Regions from separate parts of the Homo sapiens genome. Here region 1 is linked to region 2. The links are contacts of gene promoters, found by promoter capture Hi-C in blood cells and fetal thymus (Javierre and others, 2016). All regions are on one chromosome and are shown on one strand. Each heading gives the region's core, a stretch centred on a gene start or on the middle of the fragment in contact. The rest is flanking DNA. Distances are from core to core; before and after follow the strand shown.

The links. The method cuts DNA at HindIII sites, captures the fragments that hold promoters and counts their contacts. A CHiCAGO score of 5 or more calls a contact.
Region 1: a contact is called between a fragment that was not itself captured here and the fragment with the promoter of COG1 in region 2, in 1 of 17 cell types (M0 macrophages). The highest score is 5.8, in M0 macrophages.

What each region holds. Positions count from the first base shown.
Region 1 is chr17:72,841,178-72,845,292 of GRCh38, reverse strand. The region is part of intron 6 of SLC39A11 (solute carrier family 39 member 11); the gene reads left to right. Among named protein-coding and RNA genes, the nearest start is that of LINC00511, 200 kb to the right of the region's middle. The HindIII fragment of the contact is 1,366 bases long and covers 1,488-2,853 here.
Region 2 is chr17:73,191,226-73,195,821 of GRCh38, reverse strand. COG1 (component of oligomeric golgi complex 1) reads right to left here and starts at 2,767. Exons shown (of 14, transcript NM_018714.3): 1 at 2,438-2,767. The coding sequence starts at 2,752. RefSeq lists a silencer at 2,276-2,485 and enhancers at 2,536-2,815, 3,446-3,495, 2,781-3,540. The HindIII fragment of the contact is 5,644 bases long and covers 1-4,054 here.

The DNA.
Region 1 (4,115 bases), core at 921-3,420, 350 kb after region 2:
CAGCCCCTCCTTTAGATGGAACTTGGAGGCATAAGAATGTTTGTTTTTGCTCTGTGTGTGATGAGCCATTGCAGAGTTTTGAAGAGGGTGTGTATGACTTGACTTGAGCTTTGAAAGTTTGTTTCTCTTTAGATACTGAATTGAGATGGGACTTAGGAGAGGTAAGGATGGAAGCAGGGAGGCCTATGTAGAGGCCACTGCAGAATCCAGATCAAAGATGATAGTGGTGCAGACCAAGGTGGTCGTGCTGGATGTGGTGAGAAGGGATCCCTTCCTGGGTCCCGATTGAAGGTGGAGCCAATGGGATTTGCCGATGGATTGGATGTGGGATATGAGAGAAAGCGAGGAGCCAGGAGGGACCCGGAGGTTTCAGGGCTGCCCAGCTGCAGGGATGGAATTGCCATCAACTGAGACGAGGAAGGCTGCAGCTCCAGGGGCTTTAGGGGGACTATCAGGAATTTGTTTTTTGATTGTGAGGTTTGATTGCCATTAGACATTCAAATGGAGATACTGACTAGACAGCTGGATACATGAGTTTGGAGTTGGCTTGCAAAGTCTAGCTAGAGTTATAGATTTCTGAATCATTGGCCCATGAATGTTTTTTGTTTTTTTGTTTTTTGTTTTTGAGACAGAGTCTGCCCTGATGCCCAGGCTGGAGTGCAGTGGCGCAATTTTGGCTCACTGCAACCTCCACCTCCTGGGTTCAAGAGGTTCTCCTGCCTCGGCCTCTCAAGTGGTTGGGACTACAGGCGCATGCCACGACACCTGGCTACTTTTTGTATTTTTGGTTGAGGCAAGATTTTGCCATATTGGTCAGGCTGGTCTTGAACTCCTGGACTCAACTGATCCACCTGCCTTGGCCTCCCAAAGTGCTGGGATTACAGGCGTGAGCCACTGCGCCTGGTCCCTTGGCACATGAATGTTACTTAAACCCCTGACACTGGATGAAGCCACCAAGGGTCTAACTACAAATAGATGTGTCTCCAAAGACCCACTGTGGCTCATTCCTCAAGTCTTCAGCTCCTAATCCTGTCTAAAGAGAAGTGAACTCCCTCACCATCACTGTCAAGCAGCTTCATGTCTTTGATGAGGACCATTTTAAGAGCCTGTTTGGAGCCAACTTACCTTTGAAAAGGTCTCTTCTTTAACACTATCCTTTATAGTGTATTAAAAATTTAACTAGAGCTTTGACATTCCCTGAGACTCTGGGTTTTTAAGACAGACTTTTCACAATGACTAAATGGAGAATCGATTTTTTTTTTTGAAGTTTTTTGTCTTTGCTATTTCAGTTTAGTATGTCCTGAGGATGACATTTTGCTAAAAAAAATTTTTTTTTGGAGTAGAAGGAAAATGGAAGGCTTGTTAATAGTAGCCTATCTCCCGGAGGTATCCAGAGTGTGAGGCCACACCCGAAGGCATATGCACACGTCTGGGGCTCTTGGGTTAATATTTAATACACATGTGCAAGGTCAAATAGTTCTTAAGCTTCTGTGGTTCACAGTTGTCCTGTGAATCTGATAAGAGCTATACACCATCTCACAAGAGGATGTTGTACACATGTCTTAGTCTGTTCAGGCTGCCATTACAAAATGCCATACAATGGGTAGCTTAGAAACAACAGAAATTTATTTCTCGCAGTTCTGGAAGCTGGAAGCCTGAGATCGGGCTGCCAGCATGGTCGTGGTCAGGTTCTGGTGAGGGTCCTTCTCCGGGTTGCAGGTGACTGTCTTCTCGTTGTATCCTCACATGGTGGAAAGAGGGCACTCTCTGGAGTCTCATTTCATGAGGTTGTTAATCCCATTCATAAGAGCTCCATCTCACGACCTAATCACTTCCCCAAGTCCCCACCTCCTAATACCATTCATTCCCTAAGTCCCCACCATCCTAATAACAATACCATTGGGGATTAGGTTTCCAAATATGAATTCTGGGGAGACATAAACCTTGAGACCACAGCCACACACAATATTTTGCAGACAATTCTGGGTGTTTAGACTTTATGGAGTCTATCCACAACCCTAGAACAGGAAAGAACCCCTCCCCAGGCCGGGCGCGGTGGCTCACGGCCTGTAATCCCAGCACTTCGGGAGGCTGAGGCAGGCAGATCACGAGGTCAGGAGATAGAAACCATCCTGGCCAACATGATGACACCCCGTCTCTACTAAAAATATAAAAATTAGCTGGGCGTGGTGGCACGTGCCTGTAATCCCAGCTACTTGGGAGGCTGAGGCAGGAGGATCACTTGAACCCAGGAGGCAGAGGTTGCAGTGAGCCGAGATCGCACCATGGCACTCCAGCCTGGAGGCAGAGCAAGACTCCATCTCAGAAAAAAACAAATAAGCAAAAAACCCTCCCCTTTAGAGGACAAAGAAAAGTATAGTTGTGCAATTGAAATGTCTTAGGAAGAAATGGTAATGACTGATGCAGACCAGCAGATGCAGGCAGGCGCAGTAAAAAGAGCACTAAAAGGCAGACTCCAGAAACAGAGTGCAGACACCACCCGCCTCCTTCTAAGCTACTTCCGTGGCGCCTGCCTGGGTGCATCTGTGGGGGTGGTCTAGGGTGTTTGTGTCTGCTGCAGAAGGACACCCTGAGGAAACAACATGGTTTTTTAGAAAACCAACCCGAGACTGCAGCCTTTTGAGCATACTGTCTCTTGAAGTGCTGTCCATGCAGTATCATACAGATTGAAGGGCTCTGAGCCTTCCAAAGATTCCTGGCCCTTCTGTTTTTGAATGGCATTAAAAATCACCTAGCAATTGAGTTCCTACTAATCACTTATCATGAGTACCTTATGGTCTCAACAGTGAACTGCACCATTGCTTTGTATGGGAGAAAGTTAAATTGGAAGCTTAAAGAGATTCTAGGGGTTATCTCATTCAAACATTCATTCATTTGAAAATTTAGGGGATTGTGGTAAATTATTGTTATGGCTCCTTCTAGCCTTAGCATTGGATGATAACTGTGAAGAATCATAGAAATATTTATTATTAATTTCATTTATTTAACAAAGTTAATCACTCCTTCCTTTGTGCTGTCTTGCTGTATCCTTTATCTTCTGTTACCATAATTATCACTCTGACTTACAATTACCTGTTTGTGTGTTTTATTTATTTATTTATTTTTAATTTTTGTCAGTAACATAGGTATGTATATTTATGGGGCCATGAAATACATATGCGCGTGCGTGCACACACACACACACACACACACATAGTTTTTTGAGACAAGATCTCTCTCTGTCACTCAGGCTGGAGTGCAGTGGTGTGATCATGGCTCACTGCGGCCTCAACCTTGGGCTCAGTTGATCCTCCCACCTCAGCCTCCTGAGTAGCTGGGACTACAGGTGCATACCACCACACCCAGCTAATTTCTTTTTTTTTTTGTATTTTTTGTAGAGACAGGGTTTTGCCATGTTGCCTAGGCTAGTCTCGAACTCCTGGGCTCAATAGATTCTCCCGCCTTAGCCTCCCAAAGTGCTAGGATTACAGGTGTGAGCCACCTCGCCTGGCCTGCATGAAATATTTTGATACAGGTATGTAATGCATAACCCATCAACTTAAGCATTTATCCTCTGTGTTACCAACAATCCAGTTATACTTGTAGTTATTTTAAAATGTACAATTATTATATTATTGACTATAGCCACCCTGTTGTGCTGTCAACTACTAGGTCTGACTCATCTATTTTTTTTTGTACCTATTAACCATCACTACTTTCCCCCGACTCCCCGACTGCCCTTCCCAGCCTCTGGTAAACATCCTTCTCCTCTCTATCTCCATGAGTTCAATTGTTTTAATTTTTAGCTCCCACAAATAAGTGAGAACATGAGAAGTTTGTCTTTCCATGCCTGGCTTAGTTCACTTCACATAATAACCTCCAGTTCCATCCATGTTGTTGCAAATGACCGGATCTCATTCATTTATGTGGCTGAATAATACGCCATTGTGTGTATGTACCATATTTTCTTTATTCATTCAACTCTTGATGGATGCAATTACCTGTATTTAAACATGTTTATTTGCCCCTGATAGATGGAGCTTCTTGCAAGAAGTTCTATACTGCGTTCTTTTTGGGGGGCCCAATGTTATAACACATACTGAAGCTTTGATGTA
Region 2 (4,596 bases), core at 1,518-4,017:
CCTGCCTCAGCCTCCTGAGTAGCTGGGATCGCAGGTGCGTGTCGCCACGCCTGGCTAATTTTTGTATTTTCAGTAGAGACAGGGTTTTACCATGTTGGCCAGGCTGGTCTCAAACTCCTGACCTCAAGTGATCCACCGCCTCAGCCTCCCAAAGTGCTGGGATAACAGGCCTGAGCCACCGCGCCCAGCCTTTTTTTTTTTTTTTTTTGGGACAGCATCTCACTTTGTTGCCCAGGCTGGGGTGCAGTGGTGCGATCATGGCTCACTGCAGCCTTGACCTCTTGGGCTCAAGAGATCTTCCCACTTCAGCCTTCCAAGTAGCTGGGACCACAGGCATGTGCCACCATGCCCGCTCACTTTTTGGTATTTTTTGTAGAGATGGTGTTTCACCGTGTTGCCCAGGTTGGTTTCAAACTCCTGTGATCAAGCAATCCACCTGCCTTGGCCTCCCAAAGTGCTGGCATGAGCCACAGCGCCTGACCTGTTATTCTAAATTTTTTTACATTTTTTTCTCGTCAAGTTTCCATGGATTTATTTCCTCGACCAGGTTGTAAGCTCCTTCAGAGCAGGAATTGGGGGACTTCTGTTTCTTTGTAATGTGAACGAAGAAGACACTCAAATTTTTGTAGGGTTAACCGAGAATAAACCAGATATAACAACTATGAAAATCAATACGTTTCTAAAATCAGGCATAATTCAAGTTAGCGTTTTAATAAACCCTGAAGCATGACTCAGTTACAGCAAAGGCTGGCCACCTAAGGGGACACGTGTACTAAATGTTAGCTTTGGGAGGGATGAGGTCACTCATTTCAAAAATATGCAAACTTATTTGCAACTTCCTATAGTTTTATTGTGTCAGTCCAGTCTACTGACCAGGATTTCTGTAAAGCTCAGATAGCATGAACAAGTTCCAAATTGGAGTTAGACTGTACTTTTCAATTTTTTCTTCTATGTCCCAGTAAGTTCTCCCAGGCTGTTAAAAACAACTAACTGTTTACCTTTTTCACCCTTCATGCCCTTTCACTTCGTTCATTGCTAGGTCTATATTCTTTAAGGGGCCGTGCGCGGTGGCTCTCGCGCCTGTAATCCCATCACTTTGGGAGGCCAAGGCAGGCAGATCACATGAGGTCAGGGGTTGGAGACCAGCCGGGCCAATATGGTGAAACCCCGTCTCTACTGAAAGTACAAAAATTAGTCGGACATGGTGGCAGGTGCCTGTAATCCCAGCTACGCGGGTGGCTGAGGCAGGAGAATCGCTTGAACCCGGGAGGCGGAGGTTGCAGTGAGCCGAGATCGCGCCACTGCACTCCAGCCTGGGTGACAGAGCGAGATCCTGTCTCAAAAAATAAAGAAATAAAAATTCTTTTTTTTTTTTTTTTTGAGACAGAGTCTCGCTCTGTGGCCCAGGCTGGAGTGCAGTGGCGCGATCTCGGCTCACTGCAAGCTCCGCCTCCCGGGTTCATGCCATTCTCCTGCCTCAGCCTCCCAGGTAGCTGGGACTACAGGCGCCGGCCACCACGCCTGGCTAATTTTGTGTATTTTTAGTAGAGACGGGGTTTCACCGTGTTAGCCAGGATGGTCTGGATCTCCTGACCTCGTGATCCACCCGCCTCGGCCTCCCAAAGTGCTGGGATTACAGGCGTGAGCCACCGCACCCGGCCAATAAAAATTCTTTAGGAACGCAAGCTGCAGCTCCAATATGAGGATGTGTTTGTTTACCTCCCATCCTTCCTCATTGTGTCTAATCAATAGCGTTTGGGGGGAAGAACACGGGATAAGGAGAACCTGAATGAAAAAAGCCTTAGTTCTGAAAATGAAAATGTTCAGCTATTAAAAGGTAAGGGCTTGGCCGGCTGTGGTGGCTCATGACTGTAATCCCAGCACTTTGGGAGACCCTGTCACATACATACATAAAGTTAAGGGCTTGATAGCTGGTACCCTCAACAACTCCCAAAGGGTAGAACAGCTATTTGGGGTTGTGGAAGTTATTCTTGGGGAGATAAGGGGAAGGTTGGGATGAGGAAGAAATGACTTGGAGTGCAGGTGTCAACATAGGGGAGAAACCTGAGGAAAAACAATGTCAGGACATGTTATATAGGTGAGCGTTGAACTGTCAAGACAGAAACTCCTGGCGTTTTCCGCTAAAATTGAAAGGAGCCCAGTGAGGTGTAGGAATCAAGGCCCGGAAGTCGGGGGAAAGCGCCTGAAGAAACTGTTGAATGGCATTTCCAGAACGGATCAGCAGCCGCATATGTGCAAGGAAGGCTGGCACTGTCCTCTGAGGGGGGCCCAAAGGGTGAGGGGCGGATAGGCTCCTGGCTAAGGAAGGTGAGGACTCGCGGGGTCTGGGACTGACAGAGGGGGGCGGGGTTGACCTGCAAGGCCAGGGGCTCCGGGACCCGCCTGCGGGTCGCAGGGTGGGGGCACGGGGACTGACCTGCTGGGCCCGCGGTGGCCGGGGCGCGGCCGAGCCGGCCTGGCGGAGGCGGGCGCAGTACTGGTCGGTGGCCTTCACGGCGTCCACTAGCCCCACGGCGCAGCGGCGCATCTGGCCGATGGTGTCGGCCGCCTCGATCAGGTCGCGGTACCGTTCGCCCACCATCTGCCGCAGCTCCTCCTTCTTGTGCTCGATCTCGGCCCGAACCTGGCGCTCCAGCCCGCGGATCTCCTCCGCTCCATGCGTCTCGAAAAGAGCCGCAGGGTCGCGCAGATCCAGCCGCTTCAGCGCGGGTGAGGTTGCCGCGGTGGCCATGGTGCACTCGTCAGCCCCCGGCGATCTACCTACGCCCTTTTAGTCCCGCCCCCTCCGCCATCTTCGTTGGGGGCGGAAGCGCTTCCGCCCCGCCGGGGGCCATGTTTGTTACCCGAGGGGGCGGGCGCGAGGGGGCGGGCGCGAGGGGGCGGGCGCGAGGGGGCGGGCGCGAGGGGGCGGGCGCGAGGGGGCGGGCGCGAGGGGGCGGGCGCGAGGGGGCGGGGGCGGGCGCGGGCGCGGGGGCGGGCGCGGTCCTGCGCGGGGTTTTCTTAAACGGAGCCGGCTGGGAAGTGAGGTCGCCAGAGAGGTGAGGTCGCCAGGTTGGCTGCGAAACTGTGGCTGAAGTCTTCCCTTTCCCTTAGGAGCAGAGCTTCTCTGTGGAGTTAGGTGTCGGGATCGGGCCCCGCGGACTGACGGCGTTGGCGCAGGCGCAGCCGCCGCTCTCCGCGCGCCTGGCGCCCGCGAGCAGACTCGGGCGCGCTCGCCGCCGCTGGGTCTCGGATCGCACCCCGCGTGCAGTTTTAGGAAGAGGGACATCCGCGCCCCTCGCTGTTCCCCGGGAAGAGCTACCACGCCGCCCCTGAAGGGGTTCTGAGCGCTTGTTTGGCGTCTGCTTTTCCTCTGCTGTTGATTCGTGTTGGAGGTTTTCCATTTCGTTTAAAACCGATGTTTAGCCCCTGAAGACGTTTTCCCTGCGAGAGCCTGACCTTGGTGGCCATGGGGGAGGAGGGCGGCGGGCTGGGCGGGAGAGGCTGGGACGCCCCGGGGAACGCAGCGCCAGACGGGTGGGCGCTCCTCACGTGGCCCAGGAATAGTAGAATCTGGAGATTGTGGCTTGTTTCTGCTAAGTCCCAGACCCTTCTTTTTTTTTTTTTCTGTTTTAATTTCTTTTGGAAGATTTCACCCACACCAGTGTCGACAAAATGATGCAATGTGCGCAGCGGCCATGCTGAGCCCCCAGCAACTCAGGGCCTACCCTGCATCCCTGCTCATTCCCTCTCCCACCCGCCACCTCCGGACGCACAGAATTTCAATCTGCAAATAAATGGTGCATTTATAATATTCCAGTTTAACCCGCAAGAGCCTTGCGGCGTAGGGAGTATCATTCTCACTTTACAGACTCATTTTACAGATGGGGAAACGGGGGCCCGGAGAGGCAAAGGGTTTTTTACTCAGTAAAAGTGCAGTTTTCAGAGCCTGTCCACGAGATTATCTCATTTTCTCGCACATCGGCCATGCCAGGTAGGTAGGAGTAATATTCCTAGTCCATTTATGAGGAAAAAAAAAAAAGAAACAAAAGCTTATTTACCTGCCCAAATTACATAGCTGATAGGTGACCCAGTGAGTATTTGGACGTCGATTTTTAAATTACTGGCTCGCGCTCTTTTCTACGTTTTCACATAATTTCCCACAGAGCACCCTCTGTTGGCAGGCCTGCAGTTTGCAGTCTCTAATCCCATTCTGCAAGGGACACTTACTGGTATTCGGCTGATAAGCATCCGCAGTATCTCCTTTCTGTGATTGGGGAATTCATCGCTATCTAGCAAAATCTTTTTTTCTGGCGCCCTTTATAGCTACGGTGCCAGCCTGCGGCCTGGGACTGGCACAGCAGGCACAAGCGCCTAGGACTTGGGTGAAGAGTTAGTGACATTAAGAAGCAGGCTGTAATCCCAGCACTTTGGGAGCCCAAGGCGTGTGGATCCCTTGAGCCCAGGAGTTCAAGACCAGCCTGGGCAACACGGCCAAACCCCGTCCTTACAAAAAAATACAAAAAAAGGGGCGCGCGCCGGGTGGCTCATGCCTGTAATCCCAGCACTTTGGGAGGCCGAGGCAGGCGGATCACA